2 separate regions of the Homo sapiens genome follow, and region 1 is linked to region 2. The links are contacts of gene promoters, found by promoter capture Hi-C in blood cells and fetal thymus (Javierre and others, 2016). All regions are on one chromosome and are shown on one strand. Each heading gives the region's core, a stretch centred on a gene start or on the middle of the fragment in contact. The rest is flanking DNA. Distances are from core to core; before and after follow the strand shown. Region 1 overlaps LOC107987347 (a long non-coding RNA gene). Region 2 holds the start of RPS4Y2 (ribosomal protein S4 Y-linked 2).

Evidence for each region. The method cuts DNA at HindIII sites, captures the fragments that hold promoters and counts their contacts. A CHiCAGO score of 5 or more calls a contact.
Region 1: a fragment that was not itself captured here is called in contact with the fragment with the promoter of RPS4Y2 in region 2 in 3 of 17 cell types (neutrophils, total B cells and naive B cells); the score reaches 10.2 in neutrophils.

What each region holds. Positions count from the first base shown.
Region 1 is chrY:21,265,576-21,270,077 of GRCh38, reverse strand. The region is part of intron 2 of LOC107987347 (a long non-coding RNA gene); the gene reads left to right. Among named protein-coding and RNA genes, the nearest start is that of PRORY, 180 kb to the left of the region's middle. The HindIII fragment of the contact is 2,325 bases long and covers 688-3,012 here.
Region 2 is chrY:20,752,545-20,757,363 of GRCh38, reverse strand. It overlaps RPS4Y2 (ribosomal protein S4 Y-linked 2), which reads right to left and starts at 1,256. Exons shown (of 7, transcript NM_001039567.3): 1 at 1,198-1,256; 2 at 509-586. The coding sequence starts at 1,200. The HindIII fragment of the contact is 1,374 bases long and covers 1,127-2,500 here.

The DNA of each region.
Region 1 (4,502 bases), core at 601-3,100, 510 kb before region 2:
TGTGTCTTTTTCTGGTATTAGTATGATGATAATATTCACTTCATAGAATGAGCTGAGAATAAGTATCTTCTCTTCAAATTTTGAAATAGATTCTGAAAAATTGGCATTAGTTCTTTGTATGGCTACTGAAATTTGTCTGTAAATTTGTATGTTTTTGTACTTCCCTTTGGGTTTTAAAAAAAATAGTTATTCAACCTTGCTACTCATTCTTGATATGTTTTGGTTTTCTCCTTTTTCTAGTTACAATTTTAGAAGGCTTCATGTTTCCAGAAACTTAACCATTTTCTCTAGGTTTTTTAGTTTCTGAATTCACAGATGTCCATAGCAGTCTCTTAATACACTTTTCTATTTCTGTGACACTTGTTGTAATGTTTTCTTTTTCATTTTCAACTTGTTTACTTGCATCTTTTATCTTCTGTTTTCTCTGTTATTCTAGTTGATGGTTTATTAGTTGTATTTGTCTTTTCAAATAAACAACTTTTCATTTTGTTAATTTTTGGTATTGTGTTTTTGCTTTCTATTATTAGTTTTTCTCTGATCTTTGCTATGTCTTTTATTCTGCTAACACTGAGTTTGTTTTTTTTGTTTTTATTTATTTATTTATTTTTAGTTTTTTGAGGTGCAATAATAGGCTGTTAATTTTTTATTGTTTTTGTTTCTTAATGTAGGCACTGAGTAGTGTAAGCTTCTTTATTAATACTATTTGGAGTTTATCAGAGACTGGTATGTTGTGTTTTCTTTTCAATTTATTTCAGCTAAAATCATTTTATTGTCATTGTTGATTCAGTGATCATTCAAGTGCATGTTGTTTACTTTTCATGTATTTGTACAGTTTTCAAAGTTCTTGGTATTAATTTTTGGCTTATTACACTGTGGTCAAAGCAGACATTAATATGATCTTGAATTATTAAAATTTATTAAGACTTGTTTTGTGGCCTAACATATAATCTCTCTTAATCAAATGGCATGTACTAATAAGAATTTACATTTTGCAGAAGTTTTTTGATATAATTTCTGTATACATCTGTTAGGTCTCTTTTGTGAAATGTTTAATTTAACAAGTTCAGGCTTTCTTTTTGGGTTTCTGTCTCACTGGTCTATCTAATCCTCTAAGTGGTGTGCTAAACTTTCCCATAGTATTGCATTGTTATCTCTTTATTTAGTAATATCTGTTTCATAAATCTAGAAGCAATAGTGTTTGATGTGTACTTAGTTGTTTTATTCACCTTCTGAATCAATTTCTTATCATTATATATGGACATTTTAATATTTTTTACTCTTTTAAGTTCAAAGAATTTTCTCTCATGTAAGTATGGCCACTTCTGCTTACTTTTGTTTTATAGGTTTTTTGGATTACTTTTAAGTTCAAAGAATTTTCTCTCATTTAAGTGTGGCCACTTCTGCTAACTTTTGTTTTATAGGTTTTTTGGATTATCTTTCTCTGTTTGTATACATTTAGTTTATATTTGTCTTTAGAGGGAAGCTGAATTTCTTGTAGGCAGTGAACATTTTTTATTCACTTTTTCAAATATATATGTGTGTGTGTATGTGTGTGTGTATATATATTTTTTTTTTGAAGAAGGGTCTGGCACTGTTGCCCAATCAGGAGTGTTGTTGTGTGATATTTATTTAGTCATTACAACCTGTGTCTCAGGAGCTCAAGCCATCCTTCCACCTCGGCCTATTTATTAGCTGGGACTACAAGAACATGCCATGATGCCCTGCTAATTTTTGCATTTTATTTGTAGAGATGGGTTTTCACCATGTTGTCCAGGCTCATCTAAAACTCCTTGACTAAAGTGATCCATCCACCTTGGCCTCCCTAACATGCCAGAAGTATAGGTGTGAGCTACTGTGCCTGACCAAATACAGTATTTTTTATTTTATTTATTTATTTTTGAGACTGTTTTTTCCAGCCCAGGCTGGAGTGCAGTGCCACGATCTCGGCTTACTGCAAGCTCTGCCTCCCAGGTTCACACCATTCTCCTGCCTCAACGTCCCGTGTAGCTGGGACTACAGGCGGCCGCCACCACACCCAGCTATTTTTTTTTTTTTGTACTTTTAGTAGAGACCGGGTTTCACCATGTTAGCCAGGATGGTCTCGATCTCCTGACCTCGTGATCCACCCACCTCAGCCTCTCAACCAAATAGAGCTATTAATTGGATTATAAATATTTAGCGATTATGCATTCAAGGTTAATATTGATATGTGAGGTTTTATCTTCATTATATGCTTAATTTTTTTTCTAGTTGATTTTTTTTATTCTCAATCTTTTTATTTGTGGTTCAGTGGAATGTTGTCATGTGGTGAAATCCTAGTTGTAGTATCAATTTGGCTGGTGGATGAGTTGGGTAAAACCCTTTTATTAGTTGGAGTGACCAGGCAAGAGTGCTACCAGTGACTTGAGAAGCTCTCCTTTTTCCCACATTCTGTACTCTTGTGTTAGCAATTTTTACAGTGGGCTTTGTGGGCTGGCCTCAAGTGCAATAAGTAATGATTGAAGACAAGAGCCAGCTGCTAATATGGTGGTAATGAAAGGAGACTGTTAGTTTGCCTTAGGTAGGTAACAAGGGAAGAGACTCTGGACAGTCCCCAACCCATGGGTCAGTTCCTCATCCCCATGCAAGAAACAAAGCAGGCTGGAAAAAAAATCAAGCTGCAGGCATCATAAGGAAACTATCACAGGCTGTTGTACCTGGAGACATGCCCATGGCTGCACAAATACGGTAAATCCCAGCCCATTCAGATAAAAATTTGTACAAACCTCTTGTTCACTCAGATAAGGAAATAAGACCTAACATAAGAATGCCATTATCCTTTGTATAATCTGTAGGTTCCCAGGAAGTTTTTTCTCATTTTGTGATCATAAACACAGTGGGCTCCAGTGGGTTTCAATGGATAGTTTGCTTTCTTGTGCAAAGTGTGAGCCCAGACTCTGTAAAGCATCACTTCAGCCCCTGGCCCAAGTTCTGGATTAAGATTGGCTCTGGTCCAAGGTCCTGGGTTAAGCTTTCACTTCAGCTTCTAAATAGATCCCTGGCCAAGCTAAACAGAGTCTATAAATCATCAGTTCAGCCTCTGATTTGTCCTGGGCCAAGGTCTTTGGCCAAGTTTTTAACTGGTCCCAGGCCAAGCTAAGTCAGCACTATCCAGGACAGCTTGCAGACTAAGCACATTCCTCCTTCCCCTTCCCAGTTCATAAAATTCCTAAACCTCAGCCTCATGTGGAGTAACTCATTCAAGAATCCCTCTCTTCTGGCAGAGAACTTTCTTATTTCACTTATTTAACTTTTGCTCCAACCTCACTATACTGTTCTGCACTCCTTAATTTTCTTGAGGGTAGAACAAAAAACTCCAGATGTCATCACAAACGAGAAACTGCTTCATCTTGTTACACTGGCAAAACTACAACAGTAAGATTTTGTCTATCAACTGTTCTCTGAGAAAAGTGCATGGATATTTCAGTGGGTGAATTCAGCTGTGGAATGACCAGTGGCCTGGATCCCACACTGTGTCTCAGAGAATGTGGTAAAGCTATCCATAGCTGGACTAGTAAATCCTGCAATCAGGCCTCAAAGGCAGGTGCAGGCACGAGCCCTGATGTTAAAAATGAAAGAGTCCTCATTGTTCTGTCAAAATGTCTGGGCAATAGGCAACTACTCCTAGGCTGAGCTCTCATCACAAACAAAAGCATGCATTTCCAGCACCAAAGTATTTGTTGGTGAAATGGAACCTGCTTTCTTCTCACCTCCCAGTCCCAGCAGACTTCATTCCCTCTAAGCCAACTGTGACAAGATTGTGGATATTTATTTAGTCACTGCAGTTTGCTGATGTACACCATCATAGCCTGGGTCATAGGAGACATTAGCTGGTAACTCATCAAACATCCTTAAGAGCTCTTCTTTTGCTCAACTCGTGGAATTGGAGGAAGGCCAGGTATAGTGCTAGAGGCTAGAACCCACTCCATATTTTTTATTAGTTCCGGCTGTGGGATCATATTTCCCACTTGAGTCCCATTGCATTATATACAGCTTAAGTTTTTCTGATGCCAAGAGGTGCTGCTGTTGCTAGCTCCCAAAACCAGCCACAATTTGCTAGGATCAAGAATGGCATCTTACCCAAGTCACTAAGTATGTTATGCTTTTCAGAGAAGTTTTTACTCACTGTCTCCCAGTGACTTCTCAAGTTAAATTCAGGGGCTGACGGAATCACGGTGCTGTCATATGGTCTGTACTTTAAGATCCAACTAAAAAGTAGGCTGCCAAAAGATACTCACCTATCTTCTATATAGAGTATTTATTCCCAGGTTTTGGCTGGTCCTGGCCACATAGGCTGCCTGACCTTCTAATCTCTCCCAGCATATGGAGTTTTCCTTTACTTTCTGTTCTACTCCTTGTTCCATCCCAGATAATATGTTCAAAGAGTGATTGTCTACATACTACTTTGCTTTTTTAACTAGATAAGGTGTCATGGAAATGTCTTCAGTCAGTCACAGGAGTAA
Region 2 (4,819 bases), core at 7-2,506:
TAAAACTGCAGTGCTCAAAACCCCATTGATCCTTCCAACAGCCCTACTTTTTTCTCCCCCCAGCCTTCAGCACCTGTGAACATACTGTAACTTCCCTCTCCTCCCAGCAGGATGTAAGCTTCAACAAGAAAGAGGGATAGATTTTGTTGTCCAACCATTTTGTACCCGGACATATCCTTAAGGGTGGGCCCACATAACAACACCTGGCATGTATTAGGCTCTCAATAGTTACTAAAAGATGGCAAGCCCAGGTTCTCAGCGACATTATGGACCACAATAGTGCTCAAAGTTGAGGTCAGAGAGCTGTTCGACCCGCTGTTTCCAAACAGGATGTCCTAACTTTTTTCTCAGGGACCTTTTCATTACAGTGCAAGGACAAGTTCCGTGTGCAGCAAGTCTTCACCAACGAAAATCTCACATAAATAAGCAAACAGTGTTCCCACGAAATAGCAAGCCACAGGTACACAGCATGCACTTTTGAGTAAAAAGCAAATACAGTTATACTCACAAATACACCAGTTAGTTTATCCAGCATCCAATGCTTCGGCGCTGCAACACGCTTCAAGTGCTTCTTGGGGCCCCGGGCCTGAAAAAGACACCAAACTTTTTCAGAGAAACTCGTCTCAGTTAACAGTAAAATGTCTTTATCTTCAGCTGTAACAACTGCTAACGGGTAATACCGGATCGGAGGAGAAAGGACAGTCCAGGCTATTTCACGCCCAGTTTTGAGCAAATATTACTTCCTGCCAGACTCCAGAACAAACCCCGCAAAACTCCCAGACCTTTGACAACCTCACGAGTCTCTCTGGCGTCTGTCAAGACAGCGTCCACAGTGCTCTCCAAGCGAATCTGAGACTGCTTCAACGTATGGATATAAGCTAACCCGCGTAAAAAGCCAGTGCTGGGCTGCGGAGTCAAGGGTGGACTTGTAAGGTTAGCCGAGGAAGCTTATTCCTAACAAGACTCACGTGCCAACAGCACCACCGGCGCCCAGGCCGAGCACAAGGGCCAGCCCGGAACCCCCAGCCGCACTCTTCTCAGACCTCCGCTCTCCAAATCGGGTTTCCTGAAGCAGCACCAGCAGCATTCCCACCCGCCAAGCAGCGGTACCCGAAAAGTAAAAGCTTGCCAAGATGGAAGGCCCTTCTTCAAAGGATGGAGGCAGATAAATCCGGAGCTAGGACGCAGACGTCTTACCATGGCGAAATCCCGCGACGGAACAGAACCTCTCCTTTTACGGTGCAACCGTAATCTGCGGTGATAAACAGCGGGAAGTCAAATGAGTGAGAATTTCAGTTCCAGATTCCGCCTCGGGTAACCAACCTATTATTCTTCCGTTGTAGAGGTCACAGCTCGGAACTGAGTTTCTTAGCATATTCAGTTTCTGATACTGATTCATAGGTGTCAGTTATGCCACGGGACTTTTTGTTGTGCTTCCTCCCCTCAGGTCGGCTAAGCTGGGAGGACGCAGTTTACACTCTAAAAATTATCTTTCGCCAACTTTAAAAATATTTAACAGAAGCTCTGAAGGAGCAGGATTTAGCCGCCTTAAAAAAAAAAAAGCCAATCGTTAAGAAATAACCTGTATGATTCCTTGTGACTGTGACATGTTGTATTGTAAAATCATGATTTAAGAAACAATTCGTTTTTCTGAATTAGGGCCAATTTCACAGGTTTGAGAATGTATTAAAATCGTCTGTATTGTCAACTTTGAAAGGGTAGGTTTTATGGGACGTGAATTGTAAGTTCAATACCTTGTTTTGCATTAACTTGAGGTGATGGTTGCACAACTCTGTGCATGTCCCTAAAACCTCCAAAACAATTCACTTTTAAAAAGGTGAACTCGGCTATGTAAGTTGTACCACGCTCGCATGTGTGTGATGTCACAGCTTTATTGAGGTGGAATTGCTATACAAAACACAACCAGCCAAATGGACTTCCTTAATCTGTACCGTTTGACGAGTTCGGACATAGGCGTAAACCCACGGAACCATCATCACAATCGAGGTAATAAACATCTCCATCACCATCAAAAATTTCCTTGTGTTATTTTCTAGGTATTTCTTTTCTTTTTCTTTTTCTTTTCCTTTTCTTTCTTTCTTTTATTGTGTTTTTGAATGTGGCAGGGTCTGGCTCTGTCGCACCGGGTGGAGGGCAGGGGCGCCATCTCAGGTCCCGGCAGCCTCGACTTTCCGGGGGTTGAGTGTTCCTCCCACCTCAGCCTCCCACAGTGCTGAGACCCACAGGCACCTGCCAGCACTTTACGGAATTTTTATTTTTATTTATTTATTTATTTATTTATTGAGACGGAGTCTGGCACTGTCGCCGGGGCTGGAATGCAATGGCGCGATCTCGGCTCACTGCAACCTACACCTCCTGGCTTAAAGCCATTCTCCTGCCTCAGCCTCCTGAGTCGCTGGGATTACAGGCGCCCGCCACCAGGCCTGGCTGTTTTTTTGTACTTTTAGTATAGACAGGGTTTCACTGTGTTGGCCAAGCTTGTGTCAGACTCCTGACTTCATGAACCACCGACTCTGCCTCCCAAAGTGCTGGGATTACAGGCATGAGCCACCAAGCCTGGCCTCCAGCTTTTCTTTTCTTTTTCCTTTAACTGTAGAGAGAACACAACACAGTAACATCGACCATTTTTACCAATTTGTAAGCGCGTAACAGTGCCTAAAATGTTTTTGTTGTTATGTTTTGTTTGTCTTTGCATTCAATTCCTTGATTCAAGTCTATAGGCACTGTATGTGCCAGCTAGCAAGACAGCAGGCTGGAATAGATCTGAACTCCACACTGTTTGCTCTGTACTAGTATTCACCTCTTCTATTCTGAGACTCCTAGACTCCTTTTGCCATTACTTAGGTCCCTTTGCTGCTTTTGTGGTAGGAGTTATTAAGAAATTATTTTAGGCAAATAGAGAGGAAAAGTTTTCATTTCTATTAAAGCTGCTCTAGAAATGTTTCTTGTCTAGAAGCAAAGCCTGGGCTCTTAGAGCTTTGGCTCTTAGGGCTTGGCTGGCAAACTTTGATATGCAAATGTAGGCCATTAGAAACTGGGTCCACCCAAACATGGCAATTCCTGTGCCCTCCTGCCCTTGCCCTACATGTTCCTGGCAACATGGCCACCCCCACATATCCCCACGTGTGTAGAACATCATGGCGTCCTTCGTTTGCATATTAAAAGACTAGAGTAGTTGGGCCCGCTTTTTCGTGGGCTAAGTGAATGACATGCCTTGTCAAACCAATCCACTGTGCCCTGTGCAAATCAGACACCGCCTCCTCCAGCCTCTACGTATACCTGGCTTGTTTCCTCCCCACTTGGGTTCCATCTCTTGGCTTTCGAGTCCTCCCTCCCTCTGTGTCTGTACAGGGGAGCTTCTTCCTTCTTTGTTCTTCCTTGTTTCTTGCCTATTAAACTCTCTGCTCCTTAAAACAACTCCACCTGTGTCCTGTTGTTTTATCTAATTCAATGTGAGACAAGAGCTCTGGTGTTCTTACCCTCATCAGAGCACTATCAATTTCAGTTCTAGTCCTGGACAGCTCTCGGAGAGCCCTTAACCTTAACTGGACTGGTTTCTTCCACTCTCTGCGGCAGACAACTCACTTTTCCATTCTTTTCCCCATCATTTTCCTTTTTTATTATTCTCCCCCAAAAAAGCATTCGCTCCTCCAGATATAACAGTGCTGAATAGTGCTCTCTGACTAAAACGGGCTTTTCTGATTGAATCATTTTCAGAAGACTGTTAGTCAAATACATATGTAGGCATGAGGAGAGCCGTTACCTGCAAAATTATCCTTGTTAAACTCCAATCCACAAGTGCTAGGGGAGACCCATTTGAGTAATAATAAGATTTCCTGCACAGCTGACTCTGCATGGATTACTCTTTCTCCATTGCAATTCCCCTGTCTTGATAAATCAGCTCTCTCTAGGCAGCTGGCAAGATGAACCTGTTGGGTGGTTACAGAGCTGCCCGTCCGTGGCCTCCCAAAAACTGGCGACCTTCTGCTGCCCCTCTGGGAGGCAGCCAGGCAGTTCGTGCTGATGTTTCAGCCACTGGACAGTGGCAGCTCTGCCTGGCCCTGAGCCTCCTGCAACTGCTGCCCTGCTGTCAGCCTGAGGCCCTGGTTCCCCCGGACCTCCCGGCCAACTCAGCGCATCCTGGGTGCTGCCGCTGCTTGGCTGCCTAGGTAAGTGTGTGCTCCATCTGTGGGTTAAGACCTGCTCAGTGCCCAGGTGAGGACATAGGGCAGTCGAGTTGTAACTAGATCGGTGCCTGAGTGATGGCGCACCACCCTCCGGCTGGATTGGGCTTCTGAACACTTGAAGCACAGAGAAAAGGGAAGCAGAGGCGCTTCCCTCGGGACCGGACTGAACGAGTAGGTAATTTTTCCATGCAAAATGGTAGGTAAAAATTCCTGTCCACGTGAGGTTCGGTCTTTAAAAATCCATTCATTGTGTTTCTGAACAGGAAAATTTCAGACAGTGCAGCTGAGCAAAAATTGCACCAGGGAGAAACTCACAGTTAAAGTGTGTGTATGTGCATGCTTTTTTTTTTTTTTTTTTTTTTTTTTTGGTGGAAACTGGCTGTGTCATCCAGGTTGGAGTGCAGTGGTGTGATTGCTCCTCACTGCAACTTCCTCATCCCAAGTTCAAGCGATTCTCCTGCCTCAGCCTCCAGAGTGGCTGGGACTACAGGCATGCAACATGACACCCAGCTCAATTTTGTATTTTCAGTAGAGAGGGGGTTTCACCATTTTGGCCAGGCTGGTCTCAAACTCCTGCCCTCAGGTGGTCTGCCCACCTGGGCCTCCCAAAA